2 separate regions of the Homo sapiens genome follow, and region 2 is linked to region 1. Evidence: promoter capture Hi-C in 16 types of primary human blood cells and fetal thymus (Javierre and others, 2016). All regions are on one chromosome and are shown on one strand. The core of a region is centred on a gene start or on the middle of the fragment in contact, and the rest is flanking DNA. Distances in the headings are between cores, read along the strand shown. Region 1 holds the start of GTF3A (general transcription factor IIIA). Region 2 has its middle 35 kb from the start of RNF6.

Evidence for each region. The method cuts DNA at HindIII sites, captures the fragments that hold promoters and counts their contacts. A CHiCAGO score of 5 or more calls a contact.
Region 2: a fragment that was not itself captured here is called in contact with the fragment with the promoter of GTF3A in region 1 in 1 of 17 cell types (activated CD4 T cells); the score reaches 5.2 in activated CD4 T cells.

The regions. Positions count from the first base shown.
Region 1 is chr13:27,423,369-27,427,111 of GRCh38, forward strand. GTF3A (general transcription factor IIIA) reads left to right here and starts at 1,251. Exons shown (of 9, transcript NM_002097.3): 1 at 1,251-1,570; 2 at 3,724-3,743. The coding sequence starts at 1,370. RefSeq lists silencers at 1,076-1,345, 1,356-1,415, 1,516-1,595 and enhancers at 1,686-1,755, 2,706-2,925. The HindIII fragment of the contact is 2,756 bases long and covers 1-1,535 here.
Region 2 is chr13:26,185,074-26,188,816 of GRCh38, forward strand. It overlaps a transcript of RNF6 not described here. Among named protein-coding and RNA genes, the nearest start is that of RNF6, 35 kb to the right of the region's middle. RefSeq lists enhancers at 1,072-1,241, 1,292-1,341. The HindIII fragment of the contact is 1,438 bases long and covers 1,067-2,504 here.

The sequences.
Region 1 (3,743 bases), core at 1-2,500:
GAACTGGCGCAAGAGAAACCATTTTAGAATTCCGGAGTTGTGGGAGGGATGAGTGTAGAATTCTCCCATCCATGGACAGGGGCTAGAGTGGCAAATGAAGAAAGCAACAGGTGGACCCAAGGCATAGACACTCTCACAGCCCCGTTATCTTGAGACGGAGGATGACACAGGCGTTATCAACTTTCCCACTTTCAAGATGAGCAGACTGAGGCAAAGGAGTGTTTATGAACTGGAATACTCAGTTCATAAGCACTGATGTTAAGCCCTGGCTTGTTTCCAGAACTGCACTGCTGTGCAGGGACCTGTTCATCACATTCCGACAAGGGCTTAATGATTCGGAATAATGCAGGATGTGAAAAATATGGATCTGGCGAACATCCCCCAAGTCATCCTGCCAGTTATCTGTATCCAAGGACATTTTTTAGGCATGTGGTCCTCATAAACTAAGATACTCATATTCATTCAGGCCTCTCAAAAGTGCTTCTCAGGTTTTGATATGCACTGAATCACCTGGAGATTTGTTTCAAGTAGGTCATCAAGGCTCTAGGGCAGTGTTCCCAAACTTTTCCTTTTTTTTTTTTTTTTTTTCCAACCACCTGGTCAGTTTGCCGGGGTGGGGAAGGGTAGGATGGGGAGACATCTGTATTTATTCTTTTAGAGCTCGGGGTCTCACTCTGGGCTCAAGCGATTCGCCCGCGTACCTGGGACTACAGGTGCGCACTACTGTGCCAGGATAGTGGTTCCCAAACTTTTCTGCGCATTGAAATCACCTAGGAAGTTTCCAAAAATACTGATGCCTGTTTCCTACCCCCAGAAATTGTGATTTAAGTGGTCCAAGTATCCTCTAGGCTTCGGGATTTTGTAAAGCTCTCCACGTGAATCTGAGCTTAGGAACCTCTGAACTGGGGCTTGCAGCAGAAGCACGTAAAGCACGCAAAGAAACGAAACCACACAGGTCACACTAGTAATGTGGCAACAGGCTAACTTAAATTATGTAAGGCTAGTGCTTTCCAGAGTGTACTGGAGGACGGGAAACAAGCCCCATTTAAGCAGTGCCTCGGGATTTGAGTTGCCTGTGAAACGCAGCAGCCTTCTGCCGAGGACGCAGAAACCCCCGCCTCTCATCCAGGGCTGACAGGGCACGGGCCGCGAGCCGCGGCGGGGCCTCCTGGCGCATGCGCGATCTCCCGGAGCATGCGCAGCAGCGGCGCCGACGCGGGGCGGTGCCTGGTGACCGCGCGCGCTCCCGGAAGTGTGCCGGCGTCGCGCGAAGGTTCAGCAGGGAGCCGTGGGCCGGGCGCGCCGGTTCCCGGCACGTGTCTCGGCACGTGGCAGCGCGCCTGGCCCTGGGCTTGGAGGCGCCGGCGCCCTGGATCCGCCGGCCGTGGTCGCCGAGTCGGTGTCGTCCTTGACCATCGCCGACGCGTTCATTGCAGCCGGCGAGAGCTCAGCTCCGACCCCGCCGCGCCCCGCGCTTCCCAGGAGGTTCATCTGCTCCTTCCCTGACTGCAGCGCCAATTACAGCAAAGCCTGGAAGCTTGACGCGCACCTGTGCAAGCACACGGGGGAGGTGAGGGGGGCGAGGCTGCCAACCCTGGGCCTAGGGATGGCGCGTGGCCCCGGGGTAGCCACTGCAGTCGTGGCCAGGGCCGCAGGCCCCGCTGTGCAGCGCGTTCAGCTTTGACATCCAGGACTTGGGGAAGGAGCTGAGGAAGTAGACAGGAAGTTGTAGGACCTTCGTTCTGCGACCTTGATATCCATGGCAGGGGCTCGGGATTTACTAAGCAGTCATTGATCGTGAGTCTCGGCCAGCCAAGTGCCTCCCGTAATCTGCAAATAAGTGTGAGGTTTGAGGGGGCCCACCGCTACTAGACACCTGCCAAACACTGGCCCCTGGAGCTGGTACAGAAGATGGGTTACATGTACCAGGGGTCGTGAAAGCAGCATGTGCTCATTTCTTCGTAACTCCACACTGGAGAGAGCAGTGAGCAAAACAGGCAAACCCAAGGTTTCTGCTGCCATGGACCTTTGTTCCTGGGTCGAGCCGACCACAGGATAGGTGGGAATGACATGCAGTGTTGTGGTCAGGAAAGGCCTCTCTGTGTGAGCCGTGTAAGAAGGAAGGATCTAGCCATGCAGACATTTGTGCTAGGTAGAGAGAACACAAAGGGAGCCTGTGACCCTTGGGGTGGGAGGCAGGTGGGTGTGTTTGGGTGCGGAGATCACCATATGAGGTCTGAGAAGTAGGCCCATTAGGAGTTTGGATTTTATTTTGAGGGCAGGAGAATGTCAGATACCATGATATGACGTGGCAGCCCATGTCACACACAAGTGAGGAAAACGAGGGTCATGGAGGTCAAGGAATCTGCCCAGCTTCCCAGTTTTTGGCAGAGCTAGGCTTCACACTGCCTCAGCTTAAAGCCCTTAATTTCTTAAACCACTGGGCTGCAGTCCATACCTTTGCCCCTTGCACCTCCTCTAATTTATGGGCCACCTTCTCCAGGTGTCCTCCGGGGCCTCATTCCTTAACCTCTCCAGCACTGGAAGGCCGACCGCTTCTTCCTTGAGACCTTCTCTGGTTCTTTTCCTCTTCCTCGTCTGCCCTTTTCGTTGGATCCTCTTCTGCCCTCTGCATGTTCCACCCCGCCCAGCTCCCTCTTGCGGTCTTACATAGCCACCGGCATGACTCATAACATCCTTTATGCTTTGCCCCTCTGCCCTTCCTCTTGCCCGTTCTAGCCTCTAAATTCTGGGCTCTGTATTACCAGTAGATCCACGTAAGAGCTTGCCTTTCCTTTTAGACCGGTGTGCTGTATTTTGGATACTGGCGCTACCAGTTTCCTTAATACAGGTTGAAAAACTTGGAGTCATCTTTGTTGTCCCAGATCTCTCATGCAGATTAATTTGACAAATGTTTATTGAGCCTACTCCACGCCTGCCGCTGTGCAAGGTTCTGTGGCTCCGCCCCTGGTGGTATGTAGCTCACTGTGTTCCTGTTTGCTTGTTTTGCTCCTAGTACTCTCATGGAGGCCTCGGTGCCTCCCTCCTGGACGCCTTGGTAGTATGCTTTTCATAGTTTGATGCACCAAACTGGTTATTTGGTTATTTGGGGTGTGTGTTTGGCTTTTACTATAGGTTCAAAATGAGTCACCCCCTCCCAACTCCTGGGTTACAAAAGGTGGTTGCATTTAGGGTGTTGAGCTGTTTTCTTTGCTTCGCCCTGGCACCTGTGAGCTTTTTCAGGTGTGACACACTTTCCTATAGCTGTGCTTGGCATTATCCTAGCACAGACCCTGGGCTTGTCTGGGATGAGACAGGCCTCCCTCGTTCCTCTGCCCTAGGCTTGCTTTTTTACATGTTAAATCATGCGGTGGTGGGGATCCATGCAGACAAGCCATGCTAACAGCCAGGGCGTCTTTAAGAGGGGGTTGCTGTGAAAGCCTGCTGCCGGGTTGGGAGCAGGTTAAAAATGCTATGCCTGCTTATTTTAAATGCTGTTCATGGAACAAAAATCTGTGTAGTGACTTTGTGAGAAGTTGTGATGTTTATGTTGTGTAACTTTGTGCAGGAACACTGCGTCTTGCAGTGGGTGCACAGCTCTGAGTAGAAACCACCTCTTCATAGGAAGCCTGTGGCCTTAACACTAGGCAGTTTAAGCTTTTAAATAATACCAGAGTTACTAACTAGTGCAGAAGTGACATGCTTTTTCTTTTTTCCTGCTAGAGACCATTTGTTTGTGACTA
Region 2 (3,743 bases), core at 536-3,035, 1.2 Mb before region 1:
GCAGCCTCAACTTCCCAGGATCAAGCCATTCTCCCACCTCAGCCTCCCAAGCAGCTGGGACAACAGGCGCACACCACCATGCCCGGCTAATTTTTTCAAATTATTTTTTGTACAGATGGGATCTCACTATGCTGCCCACGCTGGTCTCGAACTAATGGGCTCAAGCTATCTGACCGCCTCGGCCTCCAAAAGTGCTGGAGTTACAGGCATGAGCCATCATCCCCGACCAAGGTATTATTTTTATTTTAGCTTTTTAAAATTTCTATTTGGTGTGCTCTTTGTAATAATACATAAATATATATATGAGCATGCATTACATTTTTATAACTTATAAATAAATACATATACATATACATTTGAAGTGCATTTTTTTTAAAAAAAGTTGTTACTTGGCTGGGCACAGTGGCTCACGCCTGTAATCCCAGCACTTTGGGAGGCCGAGGTGGGCGGATCACGAGGTCAAGAGATCGAGACTATCCTGGCCAACATGGTGAAACCCCGTCTCTACTAAAAATACAAAAAATTAGCCTGGCGTGGTGGCAGGCGCCTGTTATCACAGCTACTTGGGAGGCTGAGGCAGGAGAATCGCTTGAACCCGGGAGGCGGAGGTTGCAGTGAGCCGAGATCGTGCCACTGCACTCCAGCCTGGGCAAAACGAGCGAAACCCTGTCTCAAAAAAAAGTTGTTACTTAAAGTAATGCATTGTCAACAGAAGTGTAGAGGCCATGATTCTAAACTTGTGTTCTCTACGCCTAACTACGAACCTTGTGCCTTTCCAAAACCAAAGGTCACACTTCTGGAAAGTTCCTTCCTCCCTCACATTCAATATCTATTTAGAGAACACACACTATGTCCTAGCTTCTGCTAGGTTCTGAAAATACAGTAAGAGGCAAAAGAGCCATAGCCCCTCCCACCCCGTGCCCTTATGAAACTTGCAGTCTACATAAACATAGATATGAAACAAACACAAAATGTATGTTTTAACCCTAAAATGCGATAGGGAAGCCAGTCAGACGATTTACTCGGGAGTAAGAATTCAGGTCATTCACCAAGGCGCCCATGTCAAAGCTTCATCACCCGCCTCGCGGCCCTAAAACGTGTCAGAGTCATGATACACACAACGCAGAGGAAAAGTTCAAAAACAGATCTTAAAAAGAGAAGTGAAAGCAAGCGATCAAAACATTTCTGGAAATCTGACACATCTGGAGTGCCGTGTGGAGACGCCAGGGCGCGTGGAGCTTTGAGCAGTTAAAAACCCAGACCGGGAGGCCAGTGCGTGTGTAAGACCGCGTTTCTCTGCAAGGCTGTCCCGCGGCAGGAACGCGCTCGTTGGGCCGCAGAGCAAGAGCGGGACGCGCCGGGGGGCGTCTGCGTGGCACGTGGGCCCCGCAGCCAGTCGCGCTACCGACTGGCAGTCAGCGGAGACGCTTCGGAGCAGGTCTGTTAGGGCGCGCGCACACACATGCACGTGCACGAGCGCACGTACACGCGCACACCGCCAGCGCGGACCCTGACGGGGCCGAGCCTCGGAATTGGGCCTCCTCGGCCGCCGTCGTCTTCTCAGCTCTCACAGGGCCCGCAGCGGCGCTATACCTTCGGCCACAGGTAGCGCGTTCCTTCGCTGTGCTGACCGTCGATCCCGGGGGCGCTAGAGCGCCGGCTCCGGGGAGGGCAGGGAAGCGTCAGGGACCTTTCTTCTTCTTTTTTTTTTTTTCTTTTTTTGAGACGGAGTCTCGTTCTGTCGCCCAGGCTGGAGTGTAGTGGCGCGATCTCGGCTCACTGCAATTTCCGCCTCCCAGGTTCACGCCATTCTCCTGCCTCAGCCTCCCGAGTAGCTGGGACTACAGGCGCCCGCCACCACGCCCGGCTAATTTTGTGTATTTTTAGTAGAGACGGGGTTTCACCGTGTTAGCCAGGATGGTCTCGATCTCCTGACTTCGTGATCCACCCACCTCGGCCTCCCAAAGTGCTGAGATTACAGGCATGAGCCACCGCGCCCGGCAAGCGTCAGGGACCTTTCTAGAGCCTTGCTTGGCCTGAGGTCCGGGACTGGGGCTGTCCCCGCTTCCTGTTTCTGCCATCAGTGGGGCCACAGGCCTGAAGACGGCTTGTACCGCCACCTTGGGCGCCTCTGCTCCTGGCTGCGACGTGGGGCGTCCTAGCCTTCGGACCGGGAACCTGATAGGAGACGAATAGAAAGGGGGAAAGCCCTGGAAAATTAAGCCGGCACAAGAAGGGGGAAACGTTTGGAGGTCAGGCAAGGCTGATGGCCTTGGGGATCGCGGAGCAGGAGGCTTACTGGGATGTCCAGTGTGAGAATGTCAGCCCGTGAGCTCTGGTGTGCAAGAAAAATGCCTCTTTTCTGGATTTCAGGTGAATTTCTGACTCCTCTGGGCTACATACGACCACCCTTCCCTGGCCCCCTCTGGTGAACTGGTTATAAAAGAAAAATTACCCTAGTTCTTCCTGCGGTCCCCTCCCCAGGGATTAGGCCAAGTTCTGGAAGCTTATTGGGTGACTTAGTGGGTATGTTAATGGTTAAGTAACGTACCCAAGGTCTTATTGCCAATCAGTGGCAAAGTCAGGATTCAAATGCAGATCTCTTGGACTCCAGAGGCTGGAGTTTATTAAATGTTTAGCCCCAGCTCTATTTGATTTTGGGGGTTTTTTAAGACAGTCTCTATCTGTTGCCCAGGATGGAGTGCAGTGGTGCAATCTTAGCTCACTGCAGCCTTGAACTGTTGGGCTTAAGCAGTCCTCCTGCCTCAGCCTCCCAACTAGCTGGGACTACAGGCGTGTGCCACCACACCTGGTTCCTAGCTCTATTTGAGACCACAGTGGCCTGAAGTGTAAAGCACACTGGACACTAGGTGTCAAAAAATAGAACTAGAAGTCAACAAGTGATCTAAAACAAGATTCTGTAGGTGTCTGGGCATCAGTTTCATCATCTGGGTGAAATGGACTTGAACCTGTTAATATCCAAGGTCCCTTCAGCCCTAATAGTCTAGGAATTCTAGAGAGTGTAACTGCTCATTTGCAGGCTGCCATCCAGACCATCACAACTGTCTTGTGGCTCATGGAGACTTTCAGATTGATGCAGTGGCTCCAAGGCGAAGTGACCTCAATTGCTGATGCAAAACTAGATTCTATAAGTGTAAACTGGTGGTTCACAAGGACAGGTGAGAAGTGCTGATGGTGGCAAGGGAGGCAATTATAACAATATCCCTCCCCTTCTACCCCATCCTCCACCCCACTTGTGACAGACATAGACAAGGACTTAATTGTGGCACAGAGGAAGGGCAACTGACTCTTGAGACCAGTGAATCTGTAGTCAAAACGCACTGATCACTGTTGAATAACTACTGGAATTATCAAGAGTCTGGCTGAATTTACATTTTACTTTCCAAAACAAATATAACCAAAAATTCCAGTCACTGCATAAGCCAGAAGCAGGTGACACACAGAAGTGAAGACTGAGGGGAGTTTAGGTGAAAGCTGCAGCTGTTCTCTCCCTTTTAGTGGGGGCTTTAGTTGGACAAGTCAAAAGAGCTTTTTTTTTTTTTTTTTTTTTTTTTTTTTTGAGATGAAGTCTCACTCTGTTGCCAGGCTGGAGTGGCATGATCTCGGCTCACTGCAACCTCTGCCTCTTCAGTTCAAGCACTTATCCTGCCTCAGCCTCCCAAGTAGCTGGGACTACAGGCACATGCCACCATGCCCGGTTAATTTTTGTATTTTTAGTAGAG